Regions from separate parts of the Homo sapiens genome. Here region 2 is linked to region 1. Evidence: promoter capture Hi-C in human tissues and cell types (Jung and others, 2019). All regions are on one chromosome and are shown on one strand. The core of a region is centred on a gene start or on the middle of the fragment in contact, and the rest is flanking DNA. Distances in the headings are between cores, read along the strand shown. Region 1 holds the start of NPTX2 (neuronal pentraxin 2). Region 2 has its middle 99 kb from the start of NPTX2.

The links. The method cuts DNA at HindIII sites, captures the fragments that hold promoters and counts their contacts. A contact is called where the count stands out against the background at its distance.
Region 2: a contact is called between a fragment that was not itself captured here and the fragment with the promoter of NPTX2 in region 1, in 2 of the 25 tissues and cell types used here (H1 embryonic stem cells and heart left ventricle).

What each region holds. Positions count from the first base shown.
Region 1 is chr7:98,615,977-98,618,676 of GRCh38, forward strand. NPTX2 (neuronal pentraxin 2) reads left to right here and starts at 1,309. Exons shown (of 5, transcript NM_002523.3): 1 at 1,309-1,911. The coding sequence starts at 1,486. RefSeq lists an enhancer at 2,137-2,700. The HindIII fragment of the contact is 8,881 bases long and covers 1-2,700 here.
Region 2 is chr7:98,715,284-98,717,983 of GRCh38, forward strand. No RefSeq gene overlaps it. Among named protein-coding and RNA genes, the nearest start is that of NPTX2, 99 kb to the left of the region's middle. The HindIII fragment of the contact is 6,496 bases long and covers 1-2,700 here.

The sequences.
Region 1 (2,700 bases), core at 59-2,558:
GTCAGAATTTGGTTTCTAGAGATTAATCACTGCAGTCTAGTTTATATTATCATAATAATTTCATTTATTTTGGTACAATTTGCTTTCAGAATCAACCTCGGCTTCTGCGCACAAGTGACAAATCCATTTGTTTGTGGTATAATGGATAACGTGATTAATGACCTTGCAACAGGATTTCTTAAAAACATAGAGAGGAAAAGAAATAAAGATTTCCATTTATAAATGTGCAGTAAACCAGCTCAGTCTGTAGCTGTGCACCAAAATCCCTCTGAACTTGTTTTAAGCCACAGATTTGGAGAGATTCTGAAACAAATTTGCTCCTGACTTTTGGGGGTTTCTGCTCATATCTGCTGTCTCCAAGAAGCTGAGGGCAGTGGCCTCACTTCGAGGAAGTGGTGACACTGCGGGCCCTCCTGGTTACAAGGACCGGGCACTGTTGGACCACGTGGCTCCATCATGATGACTCCAGTTAGATGTCACCCCGCCCCTGAGCTCAGGTCTTGCTGAATAAGGTCACCGCCCAGGGGGCAGTCGATGAACACGCGCGCGAGGGCTCTGCGAGTGGCCTCGTGACTTTGTCCCTAACTCCGGGTGTCCCCTCCTTCCCATCAGCGTCCGGCGCCTGGTCCTGGTCCCGGTCCCCGAGGCCCCCGGGATTCTTCCCGAGCGTTTTCCGAGTTGGCGCGGGGGGTGGAGGCGGGGCCATGGAGCGCGTCCCGGGGACCGTTGCATCCGGAGGCGGCCGTCGTGCGGCTCCTTCCCGCCTCGAGAGTGAGGTGGCCGGGCCTTGACGAGAAGGCCCACGCCTGCCGCGGGGGTGGCTCGCGATGGCAGTCGGGGTTCGAGTCCCGCCTGGGGGGCTGCTCCTGCTGGAGAAAACGCCTCCCTGAGGGCGGCGGCAAACGCGCAGCGAGGCCCCGTGCCGCGCCAGAAGCCACCCTGAGAAAGGGGCACCGGGACACCGAGGGGTTCCCACTTTCTCCTCAGCCTGTGACGCCCGCGTCCTCGGGTGGGTTCGAGGGGCGCCTGGGCACGGCCAGCCGAGGCTCTCGAGAGCCCCAGTGTCGTTTTCCACCTCAGGCCTCCTTTCCTGAGGCAGAGCCCGGGACCTCGCGCTCTCGCCTCAGGCTCCGGCCCACGCTCCCGCCCGGCCGCCAGGCGCGCAACGGAAAGCGCCCCCGCCCCGCCCCGCTCCGCCCACTGCGTGACGCGCACCCGGCCGAGCCAATCAGAGCTCGTGGCGCGCGCCCCACACGCCGGCCCCCTCCGCCCCTCAGCTTAAGAAAGGGCGCGCGGACCCGGCAGGCCAGAGTGCCGAGCAGCGCGGTGGGTGCGGCTGTGAGACGGCAGGAGACTTCTGCCCCGCGGTGCACGCGACCCTCGAGACGACAGCGCGGCTACTGCCAGCAGCGAAGGCGCCTCCCGCGGAGCGCCCCGACGGCGCCCGCTCGCCCATGCCGAGCTGAGCGCGGCAGCGGCGGCGGGATGCTGGCGCTGCTGGCCGCCAGCGTGGCGCTCGCCGTGGCCGCTGGGGCCCAGGACAGCCCGGCGCCCGGTAGCCGCTTCGTGTGCACGGCACTGCCCCCAGAGGCGGTGCACGCCGGCTGCCCGCTGCCCGCGATGCCCATGCAGGGCGGCGCGCAGAGTCCCGAGGAGGAGCTGAGGGCCGCGGTGCTGCAGCTGCGCGAGACCGTCGTGCAGCAGAAGGAGACGCTGGGCGCGCAGCGCGAGGCCATCCGCGAGCTCACGGGCAAGCTAGCGCGCTGCGAGGGGCTGGCGGGCGGCAAGGCGCGCGGCGCGGGGGCCACGGGCAAGGACACTATGGGCGACCTGCCGCGGGACCCCGGCCACGTCGTGGAGCAGCTCAGCCGCTCGCTGCAGACCCTCAAGGACCGCCTGGAGAGCCTCGAGGTAGCGGCCCGCGGGGAGCGCGGGGGACCTGGAATGGGGACGCTCCCGAGTCGGGGGCGGAAGACTCGGGAGGATGGGGAAAGGGGGCCTGGCCCTGGGGAGGGTGTGATCGTCCGTGGGGGTGAGCTGGACTTGAGGGTGAAAGGCGGGGATCTAGATCCTGCTCGGGAACTCCCCTGCGTGGTATCCCTTCCCACACCGCTGCTCTTGCTGGAAGGAAACGTTTAAATTCCACCCCCGCGCGTCGGGACTGCCAGCGGGATCCGCCGAGCACTTCCCGAGGTCCGGGCTAGCGAACCCAGACGGCCAAGCCGCGGGCGCCAAATACCCGGGGACGCGGTAGCCTCTATCCTCTTGCAAATCTCCAAATCTCCGCGAGCCGGGATGCGCTCCCGCAGGCCGTGCGGGTTGCTGCGAGGCTGCCGCGGGAGGTCAGCTGCCCCGGGCATGTGGTGTTTCTTTCTTTAAATCAGGTCAGGCTGAGCTAGAGGGGGCGGAAGTCTGGGGGCGGAGGTCGCAGGGAGGCGAGCGCAGGGGGTCACCGGCGACCCCAGAGCGCGCATTAGAGGGGCAACCTCTGGTTAACTTCAAAGACTCCCGTGTCTGCAAGTTGGACCATTTTAAGGTGCTCTTCCGGATTGCTTCAGGGGAAGGGACCTCATTCCCTTCTCTCTCTCTCTCTCCCCCCCTCCCCCCCTCCCCCTCCGTCCCCCCCCCCCGCCCCCCGCTCCCGCCTCCGTCTCATCTCTATCTCTGAAAATGCGTGCAGTTTGGAACTTTGAGAGAAAA
Region 2 (2,700 bases), core at 16-2,515, 99 kb after region 1:
GTGAGATGGAACATTCATCCTGCCTTTTTTGAATAAATGTTGGGAGCATTCTCTCTTTGCAGAATTCTTTCAGCTCATAAACACAGGAGAAATCACAGATTTAGGGTGTCATCATATTGCAAATTCAGCAGTGATATGATCTAAGAAAGGGACCATCAGACATAATATGTCCCCAAGGGAGGACACACCATCATCCATGAAGTGGTCTTGCCGAAAACCCCGCCTGAACCTGACAGGTCTTCAGACTTTCCCGATTAGATTAAATGCAGAGAAATGCAAATCAAAACCACAATGAGATACCATCTCACACCAGTTAGAATGGCGATCATTAAAAAATCTGGAAACAACAGGTGCTGGAGAGGATGTGGAGAAATAGGAACACTTTTACACTGTTGGTGGGACTGTAAACTAGTTCAACCATTGTGGAAGTCGGTGTGGCAATTCCTCAGGGATCTAGAACTAGAAATACCATTTGACCCAGCCATCCCATTACTGGGTATATACCCAAAGGACTATAAATCATGCTGCTATAAAGACACATGCACACGTATGTTTATTGCGGCACTATTCACAATAGCAAAGACTTGGAACCAGCCCAGATGTCCAACAATGATAGACTGGATTAAGAAAATGTGGCACATATACACCATGGAATACTATGCAGCCATAAAAAATGATGAGTTCATGTCCTTTGTAGGGACATGGATGAAGCTGGAAACCATCATTTCAGCAAACTATCGCAAGAAGAAAAAACCAAACACTGCATGTTCTCACTCATAGGTGGGAATTGAACAATGAGAACACGTGGACACAGGAAGGGGAACATCACACACTGGGGACTGTTGTGGGGTGGGGGGAGGGGGAGGGATAGCATTAGGAGATATACCTAATGTAAATGACGAGTTGATGGGTGCAGCACACCAACATGGCACATGTATATATATATGTTACAAACCTGCATGTTGTGCACATGTACCCTAAAACTTAAAGTTTTATATATATATATAAAAATTATATATTATATATAAATATATAAATATAAATATATATATATAAATATAAAAGATGAAATGCAGAGGACAGAGAAATACATTTCAGGACATCTCAGGGCTGCAAGCAGCAAAATCCAGGCAGTGGGAAACCCAACAGAATCAACAACCTAGTTTCTTTGATGAATAAATCACAAACGGAGTGGGAAAAATAAAGACGGAGAGTGCGGGAGGGAAAATCTCCCAGAATAAAAGAGACATAGGTATGATCCAATTGCAATGTGTGGACTTTATTTGGATTCAAAGTGTAAAAAAATATAAAAATATGTACAATTATAAGACAATTGGGGAAGTGGGGAAATTAGAACAGAGGATATTTGAAGAGATCAAGGGCTTAGAGCTCATTTTTTAGGTGTGATAATAAAATAGTGGTTATGTGGGGTTTTTTTGGAAAAACATGTCCTTATCTTTTAAAGATATTCACTGAAATGCTTACAGATGAAAGATGATGTCTAGGATTTACTTTTGTCATCAGAGAGACCAAAATAGATGCCTCTGGATTAACTTAGATGGACTCTAACAAAACTCAATTACCTACAGGTCAAGCGTTCAGGGCCTGGCTGACATGGCAAATTTCTAAATTCCTATAGCTGCAAGAAAAACCACACTTGCTAAACTTCCTGACAATAGGAGCTATCAGACCCCTTCTAACTCTTTTTATGTTTTTTATTTATTTTATTTTTTGAGATGGAGTCTCATTCTGTTGCCCAGGCTGGAGTGCAGTGGCACGATCTCGGCTCACTTCAACCTCTGCCTCCTGGGTTCTGCCTCCTGGGTTCAAGCGATTCCCTTCCTCAGCCTCCCGAGTAGCTGGGACTACAGGTGTGCACAACCACACCTGGCTAATTTTTGTATGTTTAGTAGAGACAGGGTTTCACCATGTTGGCCAGGCTGGTCTCAAACTCCTGACCTCAGGTGATCCGTCCATCTCAGCCTCCCAAAGTGCTGGAATTAGAGGCATAAGCCACTGCACTCGGCCTTTTTTTGTTTTATTTTTTTGTAAAGACAAAGTCTTGCTATGTTGTCCAGGCTGTTCACAGACTCCTGAGTTCAAGCAGTCCTCCCACCTCAGCCTCCCAAAGTGCTGAGATTACAGACGTGAACCACTGTGCCCAGCCTACCTCTGATTTACAACTCAGACCACTGCAATTCTGATTGGACAAAGGACCAGCCTTAACAAACATACTTTCCTAATAAGCAACTGCAGAACTTAAGCCAGTTTCAGCGCTCATAGAGATTGCTCACAAATTTTCTTTGAGTCCCATAGTTTACCTACTGCTGTAAAAAGCCAAATGCCACCTCAATTTAATGCCAAAACCCTGCCCCAAAGTGAGCACCGGATGTATGTGACATATATGCTTACCCAATGTCCATGCATTCAGCTCCTCTCATAAATATGTGTAGCTTCCCCCACAAACCTCCTGAATATGCATGACTCTATTGTCTAATGAGGAACCTATGAGGCATAAATCCCAACCTGTCCTTTCACTTCTCGAAGGAGGGCACCTTTAGCACATGCAAAGACTGTCTCTTCCGGTTTGCCAACTGATATCACCAGTAAAGCTTTTTTTCCTGTGATTTAGCCATCCTACTGATCTGTTGTTTTATTTTTTATTTATTTTATTTTATTTTATTTTATTGAGACGGAGTC